Regions from separate parts of the Homo sapiens genome. Here regions 1, 2, 3, 5, 6 and 7 are each linked to region 4. The links are contacts of gene promoters, found by promoter capture Hi-C in blood cells and fetal thymus (Javierre and others, 2016). All regions are on one chromosome and are shown on one strand. Each heading gives the region's core, a stretch centred on a gene start or on the middle of the fragment in contact. The rest is flanking DNA. Distances are from core to core; before and after follow the strand shown. Region 1 overlaps TXNRD1 (thioredoxin reductase 1). Region 2 has its middle 4.6 kb from the start of TXNRD1. Region 3 has its middle 3.1 kb from the start of LINC02385. Region 4 holds the start of SLC41A2 (solute carrier family 41 member 2). Region 5 holds the start of HCFC2 (host cell factor C2). Region 6 holds the start of NFYB (nuclear transcription factor Y subunit beta). Region 7 overlaps TXNRD1 (thioredoxin reductase 1).

The links. Contacts are between HindIII fragments. The CHiCAGO score rates a contact against its expected background, and 5 or more counts as called.
Region 1: a fragment that was not itself captured here is called in contact with the fragment with the promoter of SLC41A2 in region 4 in 2 of 17 cell types (total B cells and naive B cells); the score reaches 7.6 in total B cells.
Region 2: a fragment that was not itself captured here is called in contact with the fragment with the promoter of SLC41A2 in region 4 in 4 of 17 cell types (fetal thymus, activated CD4 T cells, total B cells and 1 more); the score reaches 6.9 in fetal thymus.
Region 3: a fragment that was not itself captured here is called in contact with the fragment with the promoter of SLC41A2 in region 4 in 7 of 17 cell types (non-activated CD4 T cells, endothelial precursors, naive B cells and 4 more); the score reaches 8.1 in non-activated CD4 T cells.
Region 5: the fragment with the promoter of HCFC2 here is called in contact with the fragment with the promoter of SLC41A2 in region 4 in 8 of 17 cell types (total CD4 T cells, total CD8 T cells, naive CD8 T cells and 5 more); the score reaches 12.7 in total CD4 T cells.
Region 6: the fragment with the promoter of NFYB here is called in contact with the fragment with the promoter of SLC41A2 in region 4 in 5 of 17 cell types (activated CD4 T cells, naive CD8 T cells, fetal thymus and 2 more); the score reaches 5.6 in activated CD4 T cells.
Region 7: a contact is called between a fragment that was not itself captured here and the fragment with the promoter of SLC41A2 in region 4, in 1 of 17 cell types (total B cells). The highest score is 5.1, in total B cells.

The regions. Positions count from the first base shown.
Region 1 is chr12:104,242,816-104,245,878 of GRCh38, forward strand. All of the region lies in intron 1 of TXNRD1 (thioredoxin reductase 1), which reads left to right. Among named protein-coding and RNA genes, the nearest start is that of TXNRD1, 29 kb to the left of the region's middle. RefSeq lists an enhancer at 1,065-1,234. The HindIII fragment of the contact is 1,711 bases long and covers 599-2,309 here.
Region 2 is chr12:104,209,534-104,212,733 of GRCh38, forward strand. No RefSeq gene overlaps it. Among named protein-coding and RNA genes, the nearest start is that of TXNRD1, 4.6 kb to the right of the region's middle. RefSeq lists an enhancer at 195-364. The HindIII fragment of the contact is 6,114 bases long and covers 1-3,200 here.
Region 3 is chr12:104,165,264-104,168,481 of GRCh38, forward strand. No RefSeq gene overlaps it. Among named protein-coding and RNA genes, the nearest start is that of LINC02385, 3.1 kb to the right of the region's middle. The HindIII fragment of the contact is 2,041 bases long and covers 630-2,670 here.
Region 4 is chr12:104,956,726-104,960,187 of GRCh38, forward strand. It overlaps SLC41A2 (solute carrier family 41 member 2), which reads right to left and starts at 1,565. Exons shown (of 11, transcript NM_001352171.3): 1 at 1,363-1,565. RefSeq lists silencers at 954-1,283, 1,474-1,743. The HindIII fragment of the contact is 5,296 bases long and covers 1-2,659 here.
Region 5 is chr12:104,062,448-104,065,895 of GRCh38, forward strand. It overlaps HCFC2 (host cell factor C2), which reads left to right and starts at 2,084. Exons shown (of 15, transcript NM_013320.3): 1 at 2,084-2,276. The coding sequence starts at 2,114. It also overlaps a transcript of GLT8D2 not described here. RefSeq lists an enhancer at 118-287, a cis regulatory region at 203 and silencers at 1,611-1,770, 1,780-1,949, 1,931-2,100, 2,321-2,460. The HindIII fragment of the contact is 6,452 bases long and covers 1,524-3,448 here.
Region 6 is chr12:104,136,294-104,139,646 of GRCh38, forward strand. It overlaps NFYB (nuclear transcription factor Y subunit beta), which reads right to left and starts at 1,917. Exons shown (of 8, transcript NM_006166.4): 1 at 1,848-1,917. RefSeq lists enhancers at 476-1,069, 1,070-1,661, 2,485-2,654 and silencers at 1,281-1,410, 1,471-1,550, 1,651-1,750, 1,801-2,100. The HindIII fragment of the contact is 8,431 bases long and covers 1-3,353 here.
Region 7 is chr12:104,275,890-104,279,430 of GRCh38, forward strand. All of the region lies in intron 3 of TXNRD1 (thioredoxin reductase 1), which reads left to right. The region is part of intron 1 of TXNRD1-AS1 (TXNRD1 antisense RNA 1); the gene reads right to left. Among named protein-coding and RNA genes, the nearest start is that of TXNRD1-AS1, 3.2 kb to the right of the region's middle. RefSeq lists an enhancer at 61-230. The HindIII fragment of the contact is 2,232 bases long and covers 749-2,980 here.

The DNA of each region.
Region 1 (3,063 bases), core at 204-2,703, 710 kb before region 4:
TTCTGGCGTAATTTCTCTTATCATGAACCATTCCATAAACCAGTCCTCTGCAGAAAAGAGAGTTCCTTTCAAATGTGTATTCTCAGGCTCACGCAGCCACTGAATCCTGGACCTGGCATATAATCATATTAGAATACAACTGTGGAGTGAGGCAAGTGGGAATTCTTGGCTAGGACCCCAACATAACTAAGGTTTAATCTTAACCTTAAATAAGACTCCTTTGAAGGAGGTACAAGCACAAGAGCTATAAACAGGATATTGTAGTCCTTTTTATAGCACTTAAGTTCTTCTTATGACATTTATTTGTAAAAACTAAAAATCCTTTTAAGGCTAAAAAACCTACCTAGGGTTTTATTTCAATTTGGTAAATAAATAATACTAATAACTACAATGTACTTATTATTAATTTCAACACTAGAAATTCATTATCATGTCCTTTTAGGGAGTCTTTAGTCTTCCTTCCGTGTGTTTCCATAAAGACTTCTGTTTTATTTTTCCAGCTTGTCTCATATCCTACAGACTTTCAGAAACACATATAACTACTTTCTTGTCTTCACTTGATTTATAGACACTGTAATGGGTATAGCTTACCCATTTAAGCTTCCCCACTCTTGGGTCTCTTATGGAGTAACTTCTTTACTTGATGGGGTCTTGTCAGACCCAAGAGTAATATTTGTGTGTCTTGTGGGTTGAATATAATATTGTAATAATTCTTACTTTGTTAAAAGGAATCTTCTGAGAGTGGTGGTGTGTTTGCCATACTCCTTGAGCTTGAACTGAATGAGTTTTGTTAAGAGGTCTGGGGTTCTGTGGAAATCCTTGATTTCTTCTGACTTGCAGTCCAGATGCTTTTAACCACAGGCAACGAGTAAAAATATGTGCATGACAAACCTGTAAACCAGAAAGTGAAGACAGCAGGCAGAGTGGCGTGCTATAAAATTTTTATCATCACACTTGAAGTGATCGTGTTGCTCATTAATGGCGAAAACTCAAGTTCTAACACATGGCAGTTTTAGTCTGTGTTTAGCCTTGCCATGTGCTTTCATCTGCCAGGCTCCTCTTTGCTTTCCCCTTTGTTTCCCTGCTTTGAAGTTCATTCATTGTCCTGGTTTACTGTGAAATGCCACTTGGGGATAACTCAAAATAGGACAGTGGCTTTATTACCTGTGCTTTTCATATTTCATGCTACCTTTCTGTTTTCCAGTTTCCCCCAGTTAAGTTGCATTCCTTATGTACCGTGATGTTCCTCTGTTGTCAAACTAGAGCTTCTTCCCACAGCTAAGTGGCTGATCAAGGTTTCTCCAAAGAGATAAGTATCAGTTATATAGCTCTCTAAGCAATGTGTAGACTGAGAGCCACTCAAAACCTGGCTCTCTGCAGGCTTTCAGGTGGCAGTAGTCATGGGTGAGAGTCAGTGGTTTTGGCAGGTACAAACACATATGAATTGTATGAAGATGTTTCTTGAGGAGGAGTGTCCTGGAGTGGAAGTGTTTTCCTTTAGTAATCCCTTTACTAATCCCACAGTTCAAATATCTTGCTTTATATCCCTAAGAGTACAAAGATTTCAATGAATTTCTCTGTTTAGTGAAGTCAGAGACAGGAACAAATGCAATAGGCTGGTATGCAACTTTAATTTTTTTTTTAAGTTTGGGAAATACAGGAAAGAAAAGTCATGGATAATTCTGTCACGCCAATATAACTAATATGACCATTTTGCACATTCTTTTTCAGGATTCCTATATGTCGAGTTTCACAGAATTGTAAAACTATGGTACATAGGACTTGGTATTCTAGGTTTTTAAAAAACTAACAATTGTGTCAAACTATTTCTACATTATTTTGAATCTTGAATAGTATGCAGCCACTAAATAAGGTTAGAACAAGAGAGCTACTGTAATTTAGCCATTCCTCTAATGTCAGACATTTGTTGTTTCTAATTTTTTGCAATAGCTAATGATGTTACAATGAAATCATTGGTAATAATTGGATAAAAAGAAGGGATTGAAGACAGGGAAAAGAAAGGGGTGTAGGCTGTAGAGCAGGGAGAGAACCTCTTTGCAGCTTAGGCTTGGGAGAGAGAAAAGCTGTGGCAAGGTATAACTTTGTCCCTGTATCTAGAAAGGTTATGGACATGTTCAGGAGGTCCGGAATGGTGAGTATTGATAGGCCTGTGGCCTGTTTTGTTCCACTGGGTTTTACAGGAAGTTAACATGATTGATCCTAAAGCTATAGCACTTTTATTGAAAGGGAATTTGGGACTATCCCCATTTAACTAGGTGATAATAGCTATGTTAATAAAAACTACTGAAAGCTTTTCCTAAGAGAAGGCTAGGAGGTAGGGGTCTTTCAATGTTTTCATTATTTTAGATTTTTTTTTTTAAAGCTAGTCGTCACAAATAAGAATACTGAGTTAAGGCTCGGCGCGGTGGCTCACGCCTGTAATCCCAGCACTTTGGGAGGCTGCGGCAGGCGGGTCACCTGAGGTTGGGAGTTCCAGACCAGCCTGACCAACATAGTGAAACCCCGTCTCTACTAAAAATACAAAATTAGCTGGGCATGGTGGCACAGGCACATGTCGGTAATCCCAGCTACTCAGGAGGCTGAGGCAGGAGAATCACTTGAACCTGGGAGGCAGAGGTTGCGGTGAGCCGAGATCACACCATTGCACTCCAGCCTGGGCAACAAGAGCGAAACTCCATCTCAAAAAAAAAAAAAAAAAAAAAAAAAGAATACTGAGTTAAAAGGTATGGCCATCTCAGGAGGTTGCAGTGAGCCGAGATCCGAGATGGAGCCACTGCACTGCAGCCTGGGTGTTGGAGCAAGACCCTGTCTCAAAAAAAAAAAAAAAAAAAAAAGTATGGCCATTTGAGTAGTTTTTGACCCACACTGTCAAATTGTTTTTCAAAAGAATAGTATTAGCTTGTGTTACACAGCCCTGTGGACTCACTTCAGTGTACATTTATCAGCACTGGGAGTTTTCATTTTTTTTGTATGTAAGAAATGACATTTCGGGGCCGGGCGCGGTGGCTCACGCCTGTAATCCCAGCACTTTGGGAGGCCGAG
Region 2 (3,200 bases), core at 215-2,714, 750 kb before region 4:
TAGCTGGGATTACAGGCATGCACCACCATGCCCGGCTAAATTTTTTTTGTATTTTTAGTAGAGACGGGGTTTCACCATGTTGGATAGGCTGGTCTCGAACTCCTGACCTCAAGTGATCCACCTGCCTTGGGCTTCCAAAGTGCTGGGATTACAGTCTTGAGCCACCACACCTGGCCTATTAGATTTTTTTTTTTTAATCCCAGATACATAATAATTTCAGTTGCGACTATTTCAGGATGTATCTCTAAAAGAAAAGTACTTTTTAAAAACCTTACTACACAAATAGAATCACAAATAAAACATTAACAATCTTAAGTATCCAGTCCATATTCAAAATGTTTTCATATATAAATAATTTTTTTTTTTTTAAAGACAGAGTCTTGCTCTTGTCACCCAGGCTGGAGTGCAATGGTGTGATTTCGGCTCACTGCAACCTCCGACTTCTGGGTTCAAGCGATTCTTCTGCCTCAGCCTCCCAAGTAGCTGGGATTACAGGCGCGCACCACCACGCCTAGCTAATTTTTGTATTTTTAGTAGAGATGGGGTTTCAACATGTTGGCCAGGCTGCTCTCGAACTCCTGACCTCAGGGGATCCACCTGCCTTGCCTCCCAAAGTGCTGGGATTGTAGGCGTGAGCCACCACGCCCGGCCACAATTTTTTTAAAAATTAATTTGTTGATTTTTTTTGACATCAGAACCCAAAGTGCACTGCATTTGGTTGATGTGTCTCCTGTCTCTCTCTCTCTCTCCCTCTTTATATTGTAGTAAAATATACATGAGAAATTGACAATTTTAAGCATTTTAAAGTATACAGCTTAGTGGCATTAAGCACATTTACACTGTGTGGAACCATCACACCATCCGTCTCCAGAACTACTTCTATCTTACCAAATTAAAACTCTGTACCCATTAAATTAAACTCCTAATTTCCCCCTCCCCCAAATCCCTGGCAACCACTATTCTACCTTCTGTCTTTGCGAATTTGACAACTCTGGGTACTTCATATATCCTAAGTCTCTTTTCATCAATAAGTTCCCACTTCCTCTTTTTCTTCCCTTGCAATTACTGTATTTGTGGATGAAATTGGCAGATTCTGGATTTTGCCATTTACATCCCCATAGTGTTGTTTAACTTGTTCCTTTATCTTCTTTTTCCTATAAGCTGGATGTAGGGAATTTATTTATTTATTTATTTATTTATTTATTTATTTATTTAAGACGGAGTCTCGCTCTGCCGCCCAGGCTGGAGTGCAGTAGCGGGATCTCGGCTCACTGCAAGCTCCGCCCCCCGGGTTCACGCCATTCTCCTGCCTCAGCCTCCCGAGTAGCTGGGACTACAGGCGCCTGCCACCACGCCTGGCTAATTTTTTTGTATTTTTTTAGTAGAGAGGGGATTTCACCATGTTAGCCAGGATGGTCTCGATCTGACTTCGTGATCCACCTGCCTCGGCCTCCCAAAGAGCTGGGATTACAGGCGTGAGCCACCGCTCCCGGCCAATTTATTCATTTTTAAATATCATTTGAAGGTAGAGTGGACAGGACTTGCCGGCCAATTGAAGGTGGAGTATGAGAGAGAAGAATCAAGGATGACGCCAAGGTTTTTGGCCTGAGCAAGTGGAAGAATGGAGTTGCCATTTTCTGAGATGGGGAAGACCGTGGGAATAGGTTTGGGAGGGGACAATCTGCTTGGACATTTTAGGCTTGAGATGTTTATTAGACACTCAAGTGGAGATGCCAGGTGCCAGGTGAATATGTGAGCCTGGAGTTAATGAAAGTGGCTGCAGCAGGAGACATAAGTTTGGGAGTTGTCAGCAGATAGATGACATTTAAAGCTCTGAGACTAAAGGAGATCACCAGAGAAGCAAATGCAGATTATAAGAGAGAGAGGAGGGGAGAAGTTCGAGGACTGAGCTTTAGTACTTCAATATTAAGTGCCAGGAAAATTGAGGAGGAACCAGCAAAGGAGACTGAGTAGGGGCATCCAGCACAATAGGAGAAAATCTAGGTTAGTGTGGTACCCTGGAAGCCAATCATTCTAAGGAGGAGATTATGAAACATGGGTCATATGTCATGGATAGGCCAAGTAAGATGAGGACTGGGAATTAATTATTATTGGGTAGAAAAGAGATGCCCTCCCCCAGGCATGGTGGCTCACGCCTGTAATCCCAGCACTTTGGGAGGCCGAGGTGGGTGGATCATCTGAGGTCAGGAGTTTGAGACCAGCCTGGCCAACATGATGAAACCCCGTCTCTACCAAAAATATAAAAAATTAGCTGGGTGTGGTGGCATGCACCTGTAATCCTAGCTACTCAGGAGGCTGAGGCAGGAGAATTGCTTGAACCCGGGAGATGGAGGTTGCAGTGAGCTGAAAGTGTGCCTCTGCACTCCAGCCTGGGCGACAGAGTGAGACTCTGTCTCAAAAAAAGAAAAGAGATGCCCTCCCTTTTGATGCTCTTTAAACAAATCATGTATAATTAAATTAAAACTCAATGGCCAGGTGCAGTGGCTCACGCCACTTTGGGAGGCCAAGGCGGGTGGATCACCTAAGGTCAGGAGTTCAAGACCAGCCTGGCCAACATGGTGAAACCCTATCTCTACTAAAAATACAAAAAAGTAGCCAGGTGTGGTGGCGTGCACCTATAGTCCCAGCTACTCAGGAGGCTAGGCAGGAGAACTGCTTGAACCCGGGAGGTGGAGGTTGCAGTGAGCCAAGACGGCACCACTGCACTCCAGCCTGGGTGACAGAGTGAGACTCCATCTCAAAAAAAAAAAAAAAATTAGGCCGGGTGCGATGGCTCAAGCCTGTAATCCCAGCACTTTGGGAGGCCAAGGCGGGGGGATCACGAGGTCAGGAGATCGAGACCATCCTGGCTAACACGGTGAAACCCGTCTCTACTAAAAATAAAAAAAAATTAGCTGGGTGTGGTGGCGGGCGCCTGTAGTCCCAGCTACTCAGGAGGCTGAGGCAGGAGAATGGCGTGAACCCGGGAGGAGCTTGCAGTGAGCCAAGATCTCACCACTGCACTCCAGCCTGGGCGACATAGTGAGACTCCATCTCATAAAAAAAAAAAAAATTAAAAAAATTAAATCTCAAAACAAAGTTCCCAGGGAAACATTCTTTTCATGTATAGGAATTAGTGGAGTGTGATGTCATAGTAATAAGAGAGGTTAGTGGTTAAGAGCAGAGGCTTGGAAATTAGG
Region 3 (3,218 bases), core at 400-2,899, 790 kb before region 4:
CGCCTCAGCCTCCCAAAGTGCTGGAATTACAAGGGTGAGCCACCGTACCTGGCCTGAAGAGCTTCTTGATAGCCAAACACATGGAGGTACCTGGATGGTAGAGCACCCAGAGAGGGCATGGAAGCTCCGTGCCCTTTCTCATAAGCCTTCTGATGCATCTCTTCCATCCATCTGTTCATTATATCTTTTATAAGAAATGGATAAACATAAGTAAAGTGTTTCCCTGAGTTCTATGAGCTGTCCTAGCAATTTAGTTGAACCCAAGGAGGAGGTCATGGTAACTCCAGTTTATAGTGTTGCCAAACTGAGCTGGGGCCTGCTTGCCTGGCACAGTAAGGCCAAACATCCATGCTGAGATTTTGCAGTGAGAGAAAGGAGGGCATTTATTTGCAGTGTGCCATGCAAGGAGAATCTGGCAGTTCATGCTCAAGATCTGACCTCTGCAAGCCAAGGGTTTTTAAAGGTACAGGTAAATTTCAGGAAAGCAGAAGTTACAGGCAAAATTGTAAACCAATACTTGGAGGTTAAACATCAGTTTGGCCTAAAAAGGCAGGATATCCTCAACCAAGGGCTTACAGGTCATGGGTCAATTAAAAGATTTTCTGATTTGCAATTGGTTAGGGAAGGAAAGCTTCATCTAAAGACTTGGGGTCATCAGAAAACAATGTTAGGTCTGGCCCATGGGCGTGACTTCCTCCTGGCCCCTGAGGAAGAAATTTAGAACAAAGAATGGCAGCCAGAGTTCAGTCCTCAGTGTTCTCCCCTTATCTGAGGTCCGTGTGCCAGTGGATCCATTTGGCAGGGGTCTGGATTTCTAAAGAACAACTCAGGGCTATTTGTTAACATGTTATCTTTAGTTTCTATAGAGAACCAAACATCTCATGACTCTAACTTCCTTGGCTATTGTTTTAAGCTACTATTACCTTTTTGCTTATTAAGTTGCTCATTTACTTCTCAGGGCTAGCTAGGTTCCCAGGATTTCCCTTAAATGAACTCAAGATTTGCCTTTATTTCCATGCTTGAGGGTGCCTAGCAGGGACCTCTGTTCCTTCTCAATAGCTGATTGGCTGGAAGCACTAATCACAACCTTGGGCTTGCAACTGGCATCTAAAGCAGTCTTATGGGACTGGGTCCTCAACCCATGGGATCTGATGCTATCTCTAGATAGTGTCAGAATCGAATGGAATTATAGGATGCAAAGCTGGTGCCTGACGAGAATTCCTTGGTGTATGGAGAAAAACCCACACACATCTGGTGTCAGAAGTGAAGTATTAAGTGGTGTGAGTAGAGAGAAAAACCACTGAGTAGACAAAGTGGTTTAGGCTGCTGGGAGAGGACTGCTTGTCTGTCGGCCAGGACATTTCTCAGCTGGACTAGTGAGATGATTACTTTATTCTCTTAAACCTCCAAGGCTCAGATGATGCCGTGCATGACTCCAGGGAGCACCATTCACTTAGACTATAGTGAATAGCACCCCCTGCAGCTGTGCAACATGGTGGCTCAGGCCAGTTTATACACCTGTCATATTCTCTCTCTCCACTTTATCCCCACCACCACCCCGTACGACCACCACCATGCTCAGAAAACCCTTGCCTAGCACGCTCCTGGACTATTCATGTCAAAACAACTGTGGGAAATGATGCAAATAGCAACATTAATATCCACAAGCTAAAATACAGCATGGCTTCATTTTCTTCTTGTTTCCTTTCTCCGTGATATCAAGTTGTGTTTCTGCCTGTGAGAAAGACACTCACCCATCCAGTCCCAAAGAATGGACTTACAGGCACGAAGAACAGCAAAAGTGAGACTTTTTTTTTTTTTTTTTTTTGAGATGGAGTTTCACTCTTGTCACCCAGGCTGGAGTGAGTGCAGTGGCACAATCTTGGCTCACTGCAACCTCTGCCTCCCGGTTCAAGCAATTCTCCTGCCTCACCCACCCGAGTAGCTGTGATTACAGGCACCTGTCACCACGCCCAGCTAATTTTTGTATTTTTAGTAGAGATGGGGTTTCACCATGTTGGCCAGGCTGGTCTCGAGCTCCTGACCTCAGGTGATCCACCTGCCTCAGCCTCCCAAAGTGCTGGGATTACAGGCGTGAGCCACCATGCCCGGCCTCCAGTGGTATTTCTGGATCCAGCTTCTGTGTGGTGACCAACTGGGTGTGACAATAGCTCAGTTAGTGAGCAATAGAAAATAATGGAAAGACTCACACACAGTCAGCCCACAAATTCCTGCAACACCAGAGGCAGACAGGTTATAGGATACTGGGTTCCCTTATGTTCCTAAGTCATCTTATTGTGTGTCTTATTTTCCACTTGAGGCTGTTCTTTGTGGTAATTTTAATATGACTTATCTTGCCTTAAACATTTAGAGTTGGAAGGAAGGGACAGAATGTATTTTGCCCTGGGCCCTCACCTGCTGGGGAGGACTACTAGCCACAAACCCTCCCTAAAGATAACTGTGAGCACAGGGTAAGCATGCATTCCAAGCGTGACTTAATGAGAACTCTGTAATGTACCAAGAAATAAAAAGATAAGCATAGACTGACACAAAGATCAAAAGGGCAGATGAACTGTCAACTTCCAAATCAGTTTTTCCTCCAAAACATATGTTTAAAAATCTTTACTGGTAACAAGCCTGAAGGATTTTGATTTTGTGATCTCATATGTAAGCTTATCACCAACTCTGAAGGCTTAGGTCTGCTGGCATGGGTTCCATCCTTCCTTAGTGAATAAAGTACCACTTGTTGAATTGCCTCTATTGGTTCCTGGAGTGCCTCTGAGTTCTTGGAGGTCTCTGGAATTCAAGAGTCTGTTCAGTCCAATACAGCTTAGGGCAGGGGACCCCAACCACTGGGCCATGGACCAGTACTGGTTCACAGCCTGTTAGGAACCGAGAAGCACAGCAGGAGCCGAGCAGCACAGCAGGAGGTGTACAGCAGGCAAGTGAGCAAAGCTCACCTGTATTTACAACTGCTCCCTAATGCACACATTACCACCTGAGCTCTGCCTCCTGTCGGATCAGCAGTGGCATTAGATTCTCATAGGAATATGAACTTTATTGTGAACTGTGCATGTGAGGGATCTGGGCTGCATCTAAGTTGCATGCTCCTTAGGAGAATCTAATGACTGATGAAACCATCCCCCCATCCTGCTCCCATCTGTGGAAGAATTATCTTCCACAGAACCGATCACTGGTGCAAAAAGGCTGGGAACCTC
Region 4 (3,462 bases), core at 315-2,814:
CAATTAAAATATGGGTAAAAGATATGAACATTTTCTCCAAAGAAAATATATGAATGGCCAATAAGCACATGAAAAGATGCTCAGCATCCCCAATCATTAGAGAAATGCAAATCAAAACCACAAAGAGATACCATTCCACACTCACTACGATGGCTATCATAAAAAATAACCAGTAAAAAAGTAACAAGCCTTGGGGAAGATGTGAAGAAATCGGAACCCTCATACACTGCTTAGTGGGAAAGTAAAATGGTACAGCTGCTTTGCTTGGCAGTTCCTCAAAAAGTGAAACACGGAGCAATTGCCCTCCTAGGTATATACCCAAGAGCACTGAAAACACATGTCCACAAAAACGTGTAAACAAATGTGCATAGCAGCATTACACACAATGGCCAAAAACTGGAAACAACCCAAATGTACATCAACTGATGAATAAACAAATGTGGTACACTGATACAACAATATTAATATGCTATAAAAAGTAAAGTACTGATACATACTACATGAGTGAAACTTGAAAACATTACAGTATGTCTTTCGACGCCAGACACAAAAAGCCACATATTGTACGCTTCCATTTATATGAGATTTCCACAACAGGCAAACCCATATAAACAGAAAGTAGATTAGTGGTGGCTAGTGGGGTGGGGTCAAGGGGAAATGAGGAGTGATTACTAAGAGAGACAGGGTTTCTTTTGGGGATGATGATCTGGATAGTGGTCATATTTGGAAAACTCTGTGAATATATTAAAAGCCACACTTTAGAAGAATGAGTTTTATGGCATGTGATGTATATCTCAATTTAAAAATTGTCACTACAAAAAAAAGATGACATATATACGTAATATACACATCAATGTATATCGGTAACACATAGATATGTGTCATCTCTCTCTGTAAATGAGCATTTGGGCTTTTAAATTTGAGATATGCTCCGTGTATATAAAGAGAAGAATGAAAGAAAAGGGTGACGGGGCACTCGCGGAGCCCTGAACAGGCATCTGGGGTGTGCCCGAGCCAGCCTCGCAGCATCTCCATCCCAGCTCACCTTCAGCCATCACTCATACACCACCCGCCGCCTGTCCCTGCCTTGGGCGCCCGGGACCGCTTGTCCGCGGTGGCCGCGGAACAGCTTCCCTCAGCCCGAGGTGGGGCAGGCGCGGGGGCCTGGGCTCGGGCGCTGCCCGGCGGCCCGGAGAGGCGTCCGCAGGGGGCACGGCTGCTCGGGCGGGGCCGCTCCCTCTGCTCCCCGCGCCCCCGCCGCCGGGTCCCGAGCCCAGGCCTCTCGGCCCCACCTCCCTCCCGCACCTGATGCGCCCGAACGCGGCGCCGCGGCCGAAGCCGAGACTTCCCCTCCATGGTCACCTGTTCCGGAGCGCGGCGGCGGCAGCGGCCGGTGTGAGAAGGGTCCCCGTCTCCTCAGACCAGACCGAGACACCAGGGGCGGGGGATGGAAGGGGCATTCACCTGGTGCCCGGCACCGGTGGTGGCGGGGAGGACAGCGGCTCCCAGCCCACAGCTCCTTCCTGCTCCCGCGCCTCCTCGCGCGGCTGCGGCCCCAAGCTGACAGCCCGGCCGTCGGCGCCCGCGGCCCCCTGACTCCCCGCCGCCCCGCCCCCGCGCGGCAGCCCCGCGCAAGCGCAGCCGCGCCGCCGCCGGGGAAGCCCGGGCCTTGGTGATGTGGCCCGCGGGGCGGCGACCCGGAGCGACAGCACCGCCCCGCCCGGACCCCGGCCGCGCCCTGGCAGACAGCTGTCGGGAACGGGGGCGCTGGATGACGGCAAGGGGGCAGTTTTCTGGGGAGCCTGCCCAGGAGAGAAGGGCTGTGGCCTCCTTCGGCATCCCTCTTCCCCACCAGCCCACGCACGCCCACTTCACCGCCTGCTCCAAGGTCCGAACCCCCGAATCCATGACTCATGATTTCTCTTCTCAGACCAGCGGCCTCTTTTTGGCTGAGGTCATGTTTCTTGCAGACTGGAGTTAAAACCGAACCACGTGTCTTTCGGCCCAGCAGCGCATAGTGTGGGCGGTGCAGGAGCCGAGACGGGCAGGAACCACCGCAGGAGGGGGTGAGGTTTAGGGCAGCCCCATAGCACCCTCCCCGTGCCAGGCAGGTGTAGGCGCCAAGCGCATGGGGCGCTGAAGAGTTGGCTGGGGTGCCAGGCTTTTCAAGTTTCCCCACACTTGCTTTTAAACCTAGATCAAACTGATCCAAAGTCTGCATGTAAATCCGAGAGCTCATTTATTTTATTTACAAAACTATTGAGCATCTACTGTGTATGATTCAGGGAATGAGACACACCCCAGGGATACTCCAGTGAACAAAAGAAAGGTGTTGGTCCGAAGACAGTTATTTTAAAAATTACACAGCTAATGCCATAATGCCAGGATTGGTGGCTCATGCGTGTAACCTCAACACTTCGGGAGGACCAGGCGAGAGGATCGCTTGAGGCCAGGAATTTGAGACCAGCCTGGGCAAACACAGCGAGACCTGGAGTGGCTAGGAGACTGAGGTGGGAGGATCGCCTGAGCCCAGGAGTTCAAGGCTGCAGCGGGCTATGATCGCATCACTGCACTCCAGTCTGGGCCACAAAATGAGACCTTGTCTCTAAAACAACAACTCAAAATTACACAGCTAATGATACTCTTTTCCTCAAATCAAAGCTTCTACCAATTCCAAGCCACACCAGTGATTTAGTAGCAGCTTTTCTGGTGCTGAAGGACACCAGCATACATTTATCCATGTTCTTTTTTTTTTTCCTTATGCTTTGCGATCAGACTTTGAGCTTTAACCTTAACCTTCAGGGTGAAGGGTGCTTCGGTATCACTCTTGGCCATCTGCAGTCATGCTTTTTATAATGACTCATCCTGGTGTTCCTCACCACCTAAAAATGAAAGTATAATTGCAAGGAATATGGAAAAGCAGTGTTTTGACTGCATTTCCAGCTGGTTTTTGTTCTGGTTGTTTTTTGAATTACAGATCATTAGAAAGTAGCTGCTCTTGAAAGTTTGGCAGAAGTTCCACCCAATATGTGTTCCTCCCCTGAGTGTGTAGTCTTTCAAGATTTCTACACAAAGCATATACAGAAGCCAGCCTGTCTTGGTTTTGAAAATTCTTCCACCATTTTTTTCTGAGAGAGCTGGTGGTTTCTACCGTCCTTCAGAGCATTACATGGCATGTGGCAGGCAACCTTCTACTTACATTCTTCATTCAGTACCGCAAAGTAGTGTGTACTTTGGAGATATGTTAAGCTTCAAGTTGGAATCCAAATTTAAATCAAATTTCAGCCCTGAAAATAACTCACATTGGAATCGGGCGAGGAAATGCCCCCTTGTAAAAAACTGGGTCCTAATGGGTGCAGACAACAACAATCCCATTTCTACTTCATCTCCCGTCTGACAGCTGGCAACTTCAAATGTGAAGCAAGTGGCTTGGACTTGAGGCTGTGTGGTGATGCTGTTGTG
Region 5 (3,448 bases), core at 834-3,333, 890 kb before region 4:
CTGAGGTTTAAGGGAGTTGGGTGAATGAGGCATATAAGAGAAATTGAAAATGGTAAAATAAGAGGAAAAAAGAGTTTTAGGAAATTTACTATACAGTGTCTGTGTTCTCCTTTGAGTACCTCTTGAGAATCTGAGGTAGGGATTTAAATTGCTTTCAATTTTTTCTTCCACTGGACTTGTATCTCTTATTTATCTCTCTTTAATAAAAATAGAGATGGGATCTCACCATCTTGACCGAGCTGGTCTCAAACTCCTGGGATCAGTGGATCCTTCTGTCTCAGCCTCCAAAAGTGCTGGGATTACAGGTGTGAGTCACCATGCCCAGTCCTTTTTCAATTAAAATTTTAAAAAATAACTTGTATTGTGGATATTTAAGATATACAATATGAAGTTGATATCATATAGACCAGGGGTCCCCAGTCCCCAGCAACCAGTCCTCGGCCTGTTCGGAACCCCCATGACCTTCCTGAGCTCTGCCTCCTGTCAGATCAACCGCGCATTAGATTCTCATAGGAGCTCGAACCCTACTGTGAACTGCCCATAGGAGGGATCTAAATTGTGTACTCCCTATGAGAATCTTATGCCTGATGATCTGAGGTGGAACAGTTTCATGCCAAAACCATAGCCCCCATCCCCTTGCCAAGTCCATACCACCCACTCCCCTGCCAAGTCCGTGGAAAAATTGTCTTCCATGAAACCGGTCCCTAGTGCCAAAAAGGTTGGGGACAGCTGAAACAGGCAGTCACAAGGTTACTATAGTGAAGCATATTAACATATCCATCATCTCATATAGTTACCACCAACCCTTTTTGTGTCTCTGTGGCAAGAGTGGCTAAAATCTACTCATTTGGCATGAATCCCATATGCAGTGCAGTTTTATTCCTAATGGACTTGTGTGATTATGTGTAGGACCAAATCACAGGGCAGCTAGGCCTTATTAAGTGTTGCATTGGCTGGGTGCGGTGGCTCATGCCTGTAGTTCCAGCACTTTGGGAGGCCAAGGCAGGAGGATCACTGGAGCCCAGGAGCTCGAGCTTGCAGTGAGCTCTGATCGCGCCACTGCATTCCGGCAACAGAGCCAGACCCTATCTAAAATAAATAAATAAAAATAAAGAGTTGCGTATGACTGCTACCAGAGGCAGTATGGTATAATGGTTGGATATGACTGCTATCAGAGGCAGTATGGTATATGATATAAGGGCTTGGGGGTTCTGGAATCAGAAGCCCTGTGTTGGAATCCTGGCCCCAGTCTTTTTTTTCAACACCTCTCCTTTGTGTCCATCAGAAAATTACCTTACTGCACTGTGCCTCATTTCCCCGTCCATGAAAGGGAGATAACAGGAGCCACCACACTGGATTGCTGGATGGATTACATGAGTTAATACACATGAGGCACTTAGGGCATGCCAGGCTGTGGACAGCCCTCACTTGTTAGCTAGCAATGAAACAGAAACCTAGAAAACCATCTCTCCTCTGCTTAAGCCAAACAAACCAAAAATACCTCTTGTGGCTCACGGTTCCCAAGCTTCCTGGCATGGCTCCGCACAAAGCTGCCTTCGGTTCGCCCGGCAGGCTTTGTAGCGACCTTCCCTGCCCGGGTCCCAGTCACGGTCGGGAGCAGCCGCCGTGGCCCGGGCTCGCGAGGCAGGCTCCCGCCCGCACCCTCCCGTGCGAGGTCCCCGCCCTGCGCTCCCAGCTCTTCGAACCTCTACCCGAGCTTCTCTCACGTTGCTTGTGAGACTGCCTCGCCCACACATCCTAGATGCTCAATTAAAGTGGACGTAAAGGAAGATGCTGTGGCTTCTTCCCAAAATACCGAACGGGAGGCTCTGGGTGGGGATGGGAGACGTGGTCAGTGGGAAGCGTCCTTCCACCCTAAGGTGCGTTGCTCCGGGTGGCCGCTGGCCAAGTCGCCTGGGGTGGGGGCGGGGCTCCCCTGTCAGGACCCCCCTTCCCCAGCGTCTCTCCACTGCCCGCGGGCCTCCAGCCTGGCCGCCGGCGCCCGCGGCCACGTGACCCCAGCACAGCTGGAGGCGGGTCCCCGCCCTCCCCAGGGAGCAGCCGGTTGAGGCGGGAGCGGTGCATTGTGGGCAGAGGGGCGGGGGTTGGGAAGATGGCGGCTCCCAGCCTCCTCAACTGGAGGCGAGTTTCTTCCTTCACGGGGCCGGTCCCCCGCGCCCGGCACGGACACCGAGCGGTGGCCATCCGGGAGCTGATGATCATCTTTGGAGGGGGAAATGAGGGCATCGCGGATGAGCTGCACGTCTACAACACGGGTAGGCGCGGCGGCGGCTCGTCGGCCCCGCCTGCTGGAGCTGCGGAGGGGGAGGGGAGGCGAGGCGGCGGCCGCGGCCCTGACAGCTGTCACCGCCCGGTCACTGCTTCCTTGGGCGGGCGGCGGGGAGCGCGGCTCAGCCGGGCAGCCCGGGTCCGGCAGCTCTGTCCCGGACCGCAGCTCAGGATCTCCGGGGCCCTTGGGGCGCAACGGACCCCGAGCGGGGCGCACCGGCCTTCAGGCGGGGGATCCCGGACGCCCCCACCCCAGCCCGACAGGCGGACGCAGGCGACAGAAGACCATGTCCAACCGCCTGGGCCACTCCCCGAAATCTCGCCTCTGTCAAAAAACAAAACCCACTCCAAACCAAAGTTCCTTAGGGCCTTTCCCGTCTTTGCCTGCCTTCCTTCCTTAGGAGGAAGACCATCTAGGGGGTGAGGAGGGAAAACGAGAGGCCTTCTGGCACTCTCGCCTCAAATACAACCCGGTGTTTGGCAGGTAACGGTCAAGAGCCCCTCCGTGAGCCGCGCTCTAAAGCGGCGGGGACGTGGTGAGGCGGCCTTGTGTCTGCATACTCGGTGTGGACGCCCTTCTGGACTGGCCCTCGGAAAGAGGACTGTCATAACTTGAGCACCACTGCAGATCACAAGTGCCCCTGGGCAGGGAGCCCCTATCTTTGAGGACCTCTGTGGAATAGAAAGGAAACTGGATTTAATTTTTTTTTCCCCTTGTAAATGCTCAGGCTGTCACAAGAAATCTGTTTGGTGTAAAGACAGTGATGGAATTTTGGGTCTACTTCATGACCGATAACTTTTCTTTGATCAAACAACTTAATCACAGGAATAATTTGAAGGTTAACAAAATAGTGGAGTCTGAGAAGTTTTATTTTTTTCACCCTCTCCTCCTCCCAGCGCCCCAGCATATGAAGGTAAAAAGTTACTGACACTTTGGTCTTAGTGTAAAATCCCTGGCTTTGGAACAAATTAGACCTGATTTGAATCTTGCTCTGCCGGTTGCCCAGGATCAGCGCTAAAGTTACCAAACCTTTTTAAGCCTCACAATTTTCAGTTGTAAAATAGAGATTTTTATACTCACCCAGCAGGGCGTTTTGTAAGAATTAAATGATACAGATCAGGGTTTTTCAACAGCAGCACTCTCGACCTTTTGGGCCAG
Region 6 (3,353 bases), core at 667-3,166, 820 kb before region 4:
GGTAGGATGCCAAAACAAAAACACATCCTTTCAGTGTTAATTTTAAAGGGAGAAGATATACTGATACGCATCCAAGCATGAAATCTAGCAAATAGCAGAAAAAATTGTAGCCACTGAATTGAAAGTTTTTAATGCCACTAAAAAGGTCCAGGTAGCAAAAACTGCTTGACGTTTGCTATAATATTAAAAGTAATTTATAATTTCTTTTCAAATATTAATAGTATCCTCTAACCCCAAAACTGCTCAGAAAAGTCCTTCCTTGTAACGAGAAATGTTATTTTTTAAAGAGTGTCTTTGAAAAAATAAGCCCTCAGAACACTTAAAACATGGGAGCTATATTTATGTATTTTGCTTGGAATGGGAGAGGGGGGTGTGGGCAGGGAGTCATACCACACCACACTCACTCACCCAAATAGTTGATTCAGTATATATTTAGACTCAGTACATTAAAGAAAAACACTGTCACCTCATATGGTGTATATTTTCTTAAGGGCAGGTTGATATATGTAAAAGCTCAAGGGAATGCATACATCTGTTTAATGTTTTAAGAAATGCAAATTTGTATCCAAGAAAAGCAGTAGTCCCTTCCTCCACCCTCCATTCTTTGGCATCAACAACCAGAGTTTTGCATCAATATACAGTAATCCTTAAATTAAGATACAAGAGCAATGCAGGGAAGGAATAATTTGCCTTTTAAGGAATTTTGGTTAAACTTTCAATACTTTACAAATAAACCCCCCACTGATTAGTGCCACTGATATTGATCCGTTTGCTTTCATCACTTTATGTTGCTGATTAGTTTCCATACTAAGAGAGATGAAACCACCCCAGTGATTTGTAGCACGAACCACGCAACTATGGGGTCCATGCGGGTTAGTGGGATGCCATTTTTTTAAAGGTCGCAGGCTACCTAACCTTGTTTAAATTATCCTGTTAGAGTGCTTTGGGCGAGATTACGATTTGTGGGTGCTCTGTAATTCTTTGTTCTCTAAGACTACCGTTCTTTAAGGCCCTGCATATCCTCCCGCCTCCCACCACTAATGATTAAAACCTTAGTCCAATCCGAAGGGCTTCCTTCCCACCTTCGGGGCAAGTACAGGGACCGCAAACCGCCAGATGGCTGCATTCTTTACGCGCAAACCAGGCTGCGGGGAAGCTAAAGCCATGCCTTCCTCCCCACGCAGGTGCCTGGGTGGCCCCGGCCCCACGGCCTGGTCCCGGCGACCTGTCAGCCCTGCGAGTGCCAGGAGGCCGCCCCCAGAGCGCATCCCCTGACTCGCCCGGCCGCCCCGGCCCCGCGCCCAACGCCTGCCTCCCACCCGCCGCGCGGCCCCCGGGATGTGCGGGCAGACAAAGCGCCGGGCCCCGCCACAGCCCCGCGGGCGGGAGGAGGGCGCCCCCGGGGACTCGCGCCGCCGCCGGGGCTACGGGGCCAGGGCCCGGGCCGCGTCTCCCGCCCCTCGGCCGGCTCCCCGCACAAAATGGAGCCGGCCCGGGACGCCGTCGAGAGCGGGGCCCCGACGCAGCCCCGCGGCCCCTCCTCGGCCCCGGGCCCGGAGCTCAACGGCGGCGAGGGTGAGGTGGCCTGGCCCGCGTCCCGCCGCTCCTCAGCCCGGCGCACAAAGAGCCGCGCCGCGGCCCCGCGCCCGCTCCCCGGCCCGGCCCGCTGCGGGAGCGGCCTCGCAGGCGCGGGGCCCGGCCTCGGCCCGCGCGGGAGGGCGGGAGGCTAGTGCCCCCGGCCGCGGCGGCGTTGGCGGCGGGGACGGCGCCGGGAGGAGACGGACATTTCATTCGAGCTAAAGTGGAGTCGGTTTAGGAGCGATCATTGGCCGAAGCGAGACACAAACCTCCAATGCAGCCCTGGTTGGCTCCCGTCTCCAATCGGCTGTTTGGTTGGACAGAAAATGGCTGCGAAGGAACCAGTCCCAGCGCGGAGCTCCGCTTCCAGGACTCGGCCTCCCCTCCCTCCGCCGCGGGCCGCTTCCCTCGGCGCGACACCCTCCCTCCGCGCCGCCCGCGCGCCCGCCCGCCGCGGCCCCGCCCCGCCCCGCCCCGCCCCCGGCCCCGCCCCGCCCCCGGCCCAGTCCCGCGTTCCTGTGAGGCCTCCGCGCCGCTCCGGATGCCGCTCCTCTAGGCGCGAGGTCTTCCAGGGCCCTGCCCGGGCGCGCCGTTCGGGTCTAGGCGGGCCTCCTTCCCGGTGCTGACCCGGGCCTGTGCGAAGCGGGATCTCTCGGGCGTCCCTCTCTTTGTCACCCCTTCCCCCGCCACGTGGAGGTGCCTCAGCCGCCTGAGCTCAGCCTGCCTGCGCCTGGATTTTTAAGAAGGGGAAACCAAGGACAGAAGCCGCCCCCTAGGACGACGCGCCCGAGCCACCGGGAGGGTCTGAACGGCGGGGGCCTCCTGGAGCGCCTTCAGCGCCTCGTGTTTTCTTTCCTTGGGTCCCTGTTAGCGTCGCCGCATGCACAGCGCTCCCTGTCATTTGGTCCCTGAGCTTGGGTGTTTTTCACATTTCATCTAAAGATGCAGACCCCTGCTAAGTCTAGCCAGCCTTCACCCTGAATCTTGAACTTAAGATGCTGCATTTTCCACCCACCCCCACCCCTCTAGTAGCTGCAGATTGACAAGCGGCTTTTCCCAACCAGATGACATTTTGGCTGCAAGAATCCGTGGCCCGTTCTTGCCTCTGTGCAGCCAAGCTCCTTCGCTGTCTTTCTCAAACTGCAGTCCTGAGTTCAGCTTCGCTTAGCAGTGACCATCCCAGAGGTGGGTAATCCAACACTGGATCCACTCACTGCAACCGGAGCTGGGGATGGCATGCCCTCTGCTTCCACTAACCGAGTGGCCTGCACCACATTAAACTCTCCAGCTTTGATTATGTAAAAATACAGAGATCTTTTATTTATAGAGTTCCTACTGTTTCTCAGAGTATTTAAACATTTCTGCGGCAAGTATGGAAGAAAAGACAAATGAAAGCCCCAAATTGTGACAAGAGGAGTAAGTAGCAATGCCACTGTCATCAGACAACCTGACTTGAATTCCAACTCCCCTTCTTACAGGCTTGTGATCTTGGCCAAATGTCTGCTTCTCAGGGTTGTTTGGGATAATGTATACATAGAAAGCCCTTTAAAAAAAAAAAGTTATCCCAGCACTTTGGGAGGCCGAAGCAGGCCGATCACCTGAGGTCAGGAGTTCGAGACCAGCCTGACCAACATGGCGAAACCCCGTCTCTACTAAAAATACAAAAATTAGCCGGGCGTGGTGGTGGGCGCCTGTAATCCCAACTACTCAGGAGGCTGAGGCAGGAGAATCGCTTGAACCCGGGAGGCAGAGGTTGCAGTGAGCCGAGATCACAC
Region 7 (3,541 bases), core at 615-3,114, 680 kb before region 4:
GTTTTCCACAATCACCACATGAAGTGTAGATACTGTATTTATCACCATTTTATAGATGAGTAAACAAAGGCACAGAGAGGTAACAGAAGTTGCCTAAGGGCACACAGTTTGCCAGCAGAAAAGCCAGGTTACGTGATTTCATTGCGGGCTCTTATAACTATTGAGCTATACTGCTTGTTAGTAGAACGCCAGATGATGCTATGGGATTAGCCCAGAGATTTACAAAAGAGGAGACCTGGGCACATTTGAAGGCGGAATGGCTTAAACGGCCCTGAATACAAGATAGGAAGAGGATGTTGAAGAAAGGTGGGGTCCCCTAAGACCACTTGGAATTGGGATAGGTTATAGGTTGTAGTGCTCTGGTAAAGGCGAGCTTTAGCAGAGGTAGAACAATCCTTATTCTTCTGAGGTTGCAGTGACATGTAAGTATAGAGAGCTGCTGGGAAGAGAAGACAGAGAAGTGAAAGTAACTTGTACCTGACGACTTGAGCCTTTGGGCAGTGTGCTGGAGCTGGCTCGTACCAGCTCAAGAGACCCCTTGTTAAACATCAAGGAATTTTGCAAGTAGGTTGGTAGCTTGAAATTAGCCAAAGTGGGAGTATTCAACTCCAGAAATTAGCAAATACTACAAATCAGGGCCTCCCCACCACCACTCAGAACTGGTTTACCAGAACACCTTACACTCCCTTTCTTCTCTTTTCCACTTCACTAACAGTCAAAAGCCTGCTGAAGTGCCAGTTGAATTTGAAGCTTGAGTGAGTGCCCATTATGGGAAAGGCACTGTGCCAGATGCCAGGGTAAGAAAGACCAACCCCTCAAGTAAATAATACTGTGGTGGAGAGTGAAGAGCATGCAGGCGTAAATCCTGGACTAGCTGTCGGCTCTTGGGACAGTCACTTAAACTTGGGTTACTCATCTGTAAATGGAGATAATAATATATATCCCAAAGGGTTATTGAGATGACTGAGAACATGTAAAGTTCCTGGCACAGAGGTGTTCATTAAGTGATGGTTCTAAGAGTGGGGACATGTAAACAGATGTCTTTCATATAGCTTGATATAAGAAATAAAGATGGGAGCCGGGCACAGTGGCTCATGCCTATAATCCCAGCACTTTGGGAGGCTGAGGTGAGAGGACTGCTTGAGCCCAGGAGTTTGATACCAGCCTGGGCAACAAAGCGAGACCCTGTCTCTACAAAACATTTTTTTAAATGAAGCATAGGCCGGGTGCGGTGGCTCATGACTGTAATCCCAGCACTTGGGGAGGCCGAGGCGGGTGGATCACAAGATCGGGAGATCAAGACCATCCTGGCTAATGCGGTGAAACCCCGTCTCTACTAAAAATACAAAAAAAAAAAAAAATTAGCTGGGTGTGGTGGCGGGCGCCTATAGTACCAGCTACTAGGGAGGCTGAGGCAGGAGAATGACATGAACCCGGGAGGCGGAGCTTGCAGTGAGCTGAGATCGCGCCACTGCACTCCAGCCTGGGCAACAAAGTAAGACTCTGTCTCAAAAAAAAAAAAAAAATTAGTCAGGCACGGTAGTGTGTGCCTCTGGCCAGCTACTTGGGAAGCTGAGGCATGAGGATCATTTAAACCCAGGAGTTTGAGGCTGTGGTGAGCTATGATTGTGCCACTGCACTCCAGCCTGGATGACAGAGCAAGATTCTGTCTCCAAAAAACAAACAAATAAACAAAAGAAATAAAGACAGAATGACTACAGGTCATAGTCCCCTCAGTAGATTCCAGAGTTTTCAGGGTGGATGATTCATGGATGATTTTCCTTGTTTGTTATCAGAAGGTTACCGGGGTTTTTTTTTTGTCCCTACAAATCAAGTTTACCGGATTTACTTGTTGTTTTTACCGGTTTTTAGCCTGTTCCTCACTCTATATTATTTAATTGTAAGACAAACAATGGATTTGGAGGTAGGCACAGTTGGATTTATATACCAGCTCCAACACTTACCTGGTTTGTGACCTTTGGCAAGATTCTTTTTTTTTTTTTTTGAGACGAAGTCTCACTCTGTCACCCAGGCTGGAGTGCAGTGGCGTGATCTTGGTTCACTGCAACCTCCGCCTCCCGGGTTCACTCCATTCTCCTGCCTCACCCTCCCGAGTAGCTGAGACTACAGGCGCCTACAACCACGCCCGGCTAATTTTTTTGTATTTTTAGTAGAGAGGGGGTTTCATCGTGTTAGCTGGGATGGTCTTGATCTCCTGACCTTCTGATCCACCCGCCTCAGCCTCCCAAAGTGCTGGGATTACAGGTGTGAGCCACCATGCCTGGCCTCTGATCAAATTCTTTTTTTTTTTTTTTTTTTTTTTTTTTTTGAGACGGAGTCTTGCTCTGTCGCCCAGGCTGGAGTGCAGTGGCGTGATCTCGGCTCACTGCAAGCTCCACCTCCCCGGTCCACGCCTTTTTCCTGCCTCAGCCTCCCGAGTAGCTGGGACTACAGGCGCCCACCCCCAAGCCTGGCTAATTTTTTGCGTTTTTAGTAGAGACGGGTTTCACCATTTTAGCCAGGACGGTCTCGATCTCCTGACCTCGTGATCCGCCCGCCTTGGCCTCCCAAAGTGCTGGGATTACAGGCTTGAGCCATTGCGCCCAGCCTAATTTTTTTTTTTTTTTTTTGAGATGGAGTCTCACTCTGTCACCCAGGCTGGAGTGCAGTGGTGCCGTCTTGGCTCACTGCAACCTCCACCTCCCGGGTTCAAGCAGTTCTCCTGCCTCAGCCTCCTGAGTAGCTGGGACTATAGGTGCACGCCACCACACCTGGCTACTTTTTTGTATTTTTAGTAGAGACAGGGTTTCACCACGTTGGCCAGGCTGGTCTTGATCTCCTGACCTCGTGATCCGCCCGCCTCGGCCTCCCAAAGTGTTGGGATTACAGGCGTGAGCCACCGCACCCAGCCTCTGATCAAATTCTTAAAGGCCAAATTACCTTTATAAAACTGAGGACCCCCTAACATTTACCTTGTAAAAGCTTTTTTTTCTCCTTTTCTCTGTGAAAAAGATGGAATATACAAATTAACTAAGTAATATCTGCATTTTTACAGATTTAATCTCTCAACAATTATTTATTGATCAATTACTATGTGTGCATACTATATTAAGTGCTGGGAACATGATGGTGAGCATAACTAATCCTGGTCCCTGCTCACATGTGGCTATGTACATCTATATTAATTAAACTTAAATAACATTAGAACTTCACATCCACACCTGTACTAGCCATCTTTTATGTACTTAATAGTCACATGTGGTGAGTGGCTATTGGGTTGGACAGTGTAGATTTAGAATATTTTCATCACCACAGAAAGTCCTCTTGGACTGTGCTATTCTAGAGTGAGGGAGGTGGACATTGATCAAATACTCATAAAAGTATGATTGCAATTGTAGTAAGTACTAGGCAGAAAGAATAGATGGTAACATGAGAACATTTCATAGGGGGATTTGACTTCTCTGTTGGTTTTCCCAAGGAAAACCTGTTCAAACTAGATTTGCTCAATGCTTGGAAGTTAGCAAAGCCCTGTGGTGGGAGG